Regions from separate parts of the Homo sapiens genome. Here region 2 is linked to region 1. Evidence: promoter capture Hi-C in 16 types of primary human blood cells and fetal thymus (Javierre and others, 2016). All regions are on one chromosome and are shown on one strand. Each heading gives the region's core, a stretch centred on a gene start or on the middle of the fragment in contact. The rest is flanking DNA. Distances are from core to core; before and after follow the strand shown.

The links. The method cuts DNA at HindIII sites, captures the fragments that hold promoters and counts their contacts. A CHiCAGO score of 5 or more calls a contact.
Region 2: a fragment that was not itself captured here is called in contact with the fragment with the promoter of ARMC9 in region 1 in 1 of 17 cell types (M1 macrophages); the score reaches 5.0 in M1 macrophages.

Annotation. Positions count from the first base shown.
Region 1 is chr2:231,197,024-231,200,142 of GRCh38, reverse strand. It overlaps ARMC9 (armadillo repeat containing 9), which reads right to left and starts at 1,512. Exons shown (of 25, transcript NM_001352754.2): 1 at 1,445-1,512. RefSeq lists a silencer at 1,367-1,706. The HindIII fragment of the contact is 12,461 bases long and covers 1-3,119 here.
Region 2 is chr2:231,082,478-231,085,596 of GRCh38, reverse strand. PSMD1 (proteasome 26S subunit, non-ATPase 1) reads right to left here. Exons shown (of 25, transcript NM_002807.4): 13 at 2,603-2,714; 14 at 1,834-2,030; 15 at 483-578. Among named protein-coding and RNA genes, the nearest start is that of PSMD1, 27 kb to the right of the region's middle. The HindIII fragment of the contact is 2,135 bases long and covers 442-2,576 here.

The sequences.
Region 1 (3,119 bases), core at 263-2,762:
GGTTAACCACTGTGCCTAATAAACATCACCTCCTTAGAGTAGACCTCCCTAAGCCGTTTAAATAGTATCTGCTGTGATCAACTGTCATTGAATGTGAGTGCTGCTGGGTATCCTATTACTCAACATTCTTAGAAATTACAGAATTGGCCAGGCACAGTGGCTCACACCTGTAATCCCAACACTTTGGGAGGCTGAGGCAGGCGGATCACCTGAGGTCAGGAGTTCGAGACCAGCCTGATCAACATGGTGGAACCCCATCTCTACTAAAAATACAAAAATTAGCCGGGCGTGGTGGCGTCTGCACCTGTAATCCCAGCTACCAGGGAGGCTGAGGCAAGAGAATCGCTTGAACCCAGGAGGTGGAGGTTGCAGTGAGCCGAGATCATGCCACTCCACTCCAGCCTGAGCGACAGGGAAAGACTCCGTCTCAAAAAAAGGAAAAGAAAAAGAAATTACAGAATTTTCTCTAAACTTTTATATCATAATAGGTATCATTTATTGAAGGTATATGGTATGCCAGGCAATGTGCAAAATGTTTTACATTTAACCTTCATAGTAAACCTGACAGGTGAATATAGTTTATATTTTCCCATTCCAGATGAGGCAATTTGAGGCCCAGGAAGTCTGACACACTCCCAACAGCCACAGTAAGTGACTAAGCGGCTGAAAAGAACCACTACACAGTATTTCCCAAAGTCTGGACCACCTAAATCAGAATCAGCTGGCACGCTTGTGCAAATGAAAATTCCTGCCTCCACCCTGGTCTTACTGAACACCGTGGCAGGCACCATGCCCAGAAATCTGCCTTTTAAACAAGCTCCCTGAGTGACTTTTACACACTCTCAAGTTTGAGAACCAGTGCTCTCCTTTATGCGGAAACTAAGAAAAACTTTTCCAGTTACATTTGGGGATTGCAGCGGCAGCTTTTGAATTCCTATATAAGAAAGATTTAGGGCCCACAAACGGGTGGGATTATGGGATTTGTATGGAAGCCGAATCTGCATAGCACGCATCCTGTTTTTCCTAAGATTAGGTGAAGTCTGGACTTCAACTGGGTGCCTCAGGAACGCGGCTAGCAGATGGAGATTATCAGGGGGATCTAAATCCCGGATAACCCGCTCGCGCCGCCACCACCAGCTGGATGGCTTGAGGGACCCCCTCCAAGTATGGCCCACTGCAGCAAAGATCAGGGACTACTTGCGGGAAGCAGCTGGGCCTGTCCTTTCTTGGGATGTCCAGGCGGCCGCCTCGGCCCTTGCCGAAGAAAGATCCCTGGACCGCAGGCGAGAAGTGGTAGCATCCGGCGGCGGCGGAGCGGGCGCGTCGGGTTTTTCCTCGGAACAAGAGGTCCGCAGAGCCTCGGCCCTCCAAACGCACCGCTGCTCCTCCCAGCACCAGGACGGCGGGCGGAGGGTGGCCCGGCTGCATCCGGGGACGCGCTTACCTGCTGCTCGGCCGCGGACACTCGCGCTATCCCAGCCCGGCCGCCACCTCCGCAGCCGTCACCCGGGCAACCGCCGCCGCCACCCCGGCGTCACGTGGGGGCGGCGCAGCCAATCGCGCGGGGCGCCGCCGACGCGGAGCAGCCTGGGAGGGAAGGTGGGCGACCCCGAAACTTCCTGGCGGCGGAAGTGAGGGTCCACAGCCCAGCAGTGGTGAAGGTTCACGCGCTGGATGACCGCGTCTTCTGTGGTCCTCTCCACCACTCCACTTTCGTTCGTTCATTCATTCGTTCATTTCCCTTTCGTTGCGCCAGTCGCTGCGCCGGCTCTCGGGATGAGCCGGAGCAGGCTCAACCCCTTGTCTCAAGGAGCTCGTGGTCGCGTAGAGAACACAAACTAGGACAGTGTGGTGTCCGTGGGGAAAGAGTCAGGCATGGTTATTCCCATCTTAAAGGAGGGACCTGGGGCCACCTTAGAACCAAAAGTGACGCCCAAGATGTGCATTAAAGCTCCGGGGACCAGGGTCCCGCCCCACTGCAGCGGTTTCCAAGGATTTCAGAGAAACTTTTTGTTTTCCATGTCAAATGTGGGCTATTAAAAATAAATCAGGAGCACACGTCTTCCCTCTCTTTGCACCTGATGCTTTTGAACTGAAGTTCATCAGCACTGAATGAGCACTTGCTAGTCACCCAACTTTGTGCTGGAGGGTGAAGAGATGGCCATGGATAGAAAATCCCTCCCCTCCAGGCGTTGAGATTCCGTGGGAGTCTCTCGTTGCCACCTCAGTGTTTCCACCTCCATGCTTCCAAGAAGGAGGAGGCTACCAGGGCCAGAGACAGGGAATGGGGCACGGAGAAGGTAGGTCAGCTCGCCTTTGAAGAAGCCCTAAGATGGGCTGTGGCCACCACTTCCCCAGTCCCCAACCCTGCCAGTGGATTGTCTTCCAAAAGAAAAAAAGCTGTATTTAGTAGAAGAGAGCCCTATCTTCTGTCCAGGTAATATGGATTGAAAATAAATCTTCAATCCATGGCCATAATATTTATCGTCAACACAACTGTATGCCGGGAGATGCCAGACAAAATATAGAACACACAGTTAAATGTAAATTTTAGATAATGTTTTAGTGTAAGTAAATCCCAAAAACTGCTTCATTTTATTGTGCATGTAGGATGTTATATTGTTCTGTATTTTTGTTTGCAAAACGTGCAGCCTATATGTGTGCCCAGCATTGTGCTAAGTGAATCATATAGATTGTTTTCTTTAGTTCTCACACCAGGCCCGGCACGGTGGCTCACACCTGTAATCCCAGCACTTGGGAGGCCAAGGCAGATGGATCACCTAAGGTCACAAGTTTCAGACCAGCCTGGCCAACATGGTGAAACCTGTCTCTACTAAAAATACAAAAATTAGCTGGGCGTATTGGCATGTGCCTGTAGTCCCAGCCACTCGGGAAGCTGAGGCAGGAGAATCCTTGAACCCGGAAGATGGAGGTTTCAGTGAGCCGAGATCACGCCACTGTACTCCAGCCTGGGCAACAGAGTGAGACTCTGTCTCAAAAAAAAAAAAGTTTTTAATTCTCACACCACATCTATGAGATGAATAATATTTTCAGCATTTTACTGATTGACAATGTTGTAATTAACCTGAGCTGTGTGCTCTTAGAAAACAGCCACAGTT
Region 2 (3,119 bases), core at 260-2,759, 110 kb after region 1:
GCTAGAGTGCGGTGGCATAATTATAGCTCACTGTCCACTTCACTTTCCAGAGTAGCTGGGATTACAGGCATGAGCCACTGCACCCATTAGGGGTATGTGGAAGCTAACTCTACCGGCTGTAAAAAGAAATAAATGGTTCCTGTTCTTCACTGAATTTCTCTATCCTAGGGTGGCCACACATACTCACAAGGTCTTATCCCTTACAAATGAGGGTGCTCCTTGCAGTAGGATTTTAGAAGTTGCACCTGAATGGCTTTAAGGACTTCCATTTATATGGGACTGTTATCCCATCCCATATCCTTCTGAAAAGCTAAGTGAATCTAGTGCTAGGTTATGGCCTGTTGGGTCCAGTAAATGAGAATCACAACCTAAGACCACTGGTGGTGGTCATGCGCTGTGGATGCTGGAGTCACCTAGACACTTATTGTCCATCTGCAAGCTTTTCCGTCCACCCCATTCCCAAGAAAGGTCAGAGTACTTACAGCAACATGTAGCAGGCGTCGAATTGCTTTGTTGTTACCAGAGCCACAATAAGCCATGGCTACAGTATACATTCCAGACCTTCGAAGAATTGGGTCCTAAGAAAAATAATTTAACATTAATCATCAACTTATTTCAAACAGTTAACTTCTACAGTCTAATAGGCATAGTGGCATCCACCAAGTAAGCTGGTCTCAGATAGGAAATGATGAGCTCAATAACTCTTTTGTGGTTGGTAGTTTTTGAAATAAATGGGGCAATAAAACACATAAATACAGAAGGAGGTAGCTGCTCTTAATTCCCAATACGCTATGCAATATGCCTGCCCTGCTTCATACTTTTTAGGAAGTATAAAGTCAAGTCAACAGCAACAGCCACTCCTATGGCAGTCCACTTCCTTTTAACAATCAAGCAAGGAAGTTGGCTTCTAATTCTACATTTTTACCTTATTTAAATTCCTGGGTACTGAGTGCTGAGTGGAAGAAAGATGGAGCCTGGTAACTGAACAAATTAATTAATAATTTTATCAATAAACTATAGCAGTGGTTCTTATTGATTATAGAGGACAGTATTACCTGCCACTAACTACCCACCATATACAACACCATTATAAAAACTAAACAAAAGGCAATGGAAAAAAAACCTCACCCAAATAAACAAGTATAGAGATTGGTACTGTTTTCTGATAAAAGAATAATGAAGTAAACTTTGTATCTTATTAAATGACTATCAAATCATTCCAAAAATATATATATATATATTTTTGAGATGGAGTCTTGCTCTGTCACCCAGGCTGGAGTGCAGTGGTTCAATCCCTGCTCACTATAACCTCTGTCTCCCAGGCTCAAGCAATTCTCATGCCTCAGGCTCCCAAGTAGCTGGGATTACAGGTGTCCGCCACCAAGCCTGGCTAATTTTTTTTCTACGTTTAGCAGAGACAGGGTTTCACCATGTTGGCCAGGCTAGTTTTGAACTCCTGACCTCAAGTGATCCACCTGCCTCGGCCTCCCAAAATGCTAGGATTACAGGCGTGAGCCACCACGCCTGGCCCAAAAATTATTATTTCTAAAAGAAATCAACTCGTGAATTCCTAAAGAACTATGCTGAATCTGCTTATGAGTATCACCGATCTGAAGCTATAGCAAAATTTAAAATCCTCAAATTACTCCCATGTACCTTTTCTAATCAGTGCTTTTATTTCTTAAATTCTATTAGGCTTCATATACATTGCCAGAAGTTTTATGAATAAGTGTACCTACATGTTCTGATGGGAACAGAGTTAATTTCCAGTGAAGTTAAGTGTTTTTTACATGCTGGAGATAAATGGACAGTGAGGGACGTATGTGATCTCACCTTGTCACGACAGAGAGATTCAATGAGAGCATCAGCCTCTTCCATCCTCCCATACATTACTAAAGCTATGCCAACTGCAAGACCACGCAGAATCTTCTCATGTTGAGTTTCTTGTGCATAACCAACCATGTCCTCAATAGCCTGAGCATTTTTAGAGCCCAACATAACCAAACCTAGGGCCAGGCCAGCTGCTTCCCCTGGCAAGTAACGAGTAAAATGTTAACAGAGAGTTATGTTTTTAAAGTCAGTAAAACATCCAACTGAAAGTAGCACTCTTTTTGCATAAACTATCAAAAAAATCATTAGCTTCTGATAGCATTTTTTTAAACCACCTGGTAAAAAGGATACTTTATGTGGAAGCACATTCATACATTTAGGGTTCGCACATTCATATTTAGGGTTGTTTTCCTTTTAAACTTTGACAGAATGTACCATCAAATCCTACAGTGATTTCAAAGGAGACATTTAGATAACATTTTTTCTATATTATCGCCAAGCAGTATGGAGTAAGCAGATCACCCTAATAAATTCCTGTTTGCAAAAGTCAGTTATGAAAGTGGACACACAGGATATACCATTTTAGAAAGCCTATATATCACAAAACTTGTTTTAAAAGATAACTTTGACAAATGGAGCAAAATTCACTTCCTCTTCAACTAGAGAAATCCATCGGAATTTTAAGAGGCTACAAAATATAGGTAGAAACTAATGTAATTACATTTACATTAATTAATACTTAAGCTTGTTAGCTTTAGAAAGAAATGCTTACCTGTTACTGCATCATCCTGATAAAGGTTTGTTTTTAGCAAATCATAAACATCTTGACGTGCAGTTCCCATGGCTGCCAAACCAAGGCCCAGACTGCCACCGTGTCTAACGATCTAAGGAAAAAACATAGATTCCATTGATTTGGTACACTGTACTTAACATACAAGTTTTTATTCTAATTTCAAAATACAGTTTCACATTAAATATGCAGAGGTTGGCTCAGTAAGAATGATCAAAGGATGTGATAATCAAAAGGTCAGTGATAAACTCAGCAATTGCAGTTTTTGTTTCAGACGTAGTTTCGCTCTTGTCGCCCAGGCTGGAGTGCAATGGCGTGATCTGGGCTCACTGCAAACTCCACCTCCTGGGTTCAAGTGATTCTCCTGCCTTAGCCTCTCAAGTAGCTGGGATTACAGGTGGCTGCCACCACGCCTGCCTAATTTTTGTATTTTTAGTAGAGATGGGGTTTCATCATGTTGGCCAGGCTGGTCTGTAACTTCCTGACCTCAGGTGATCCA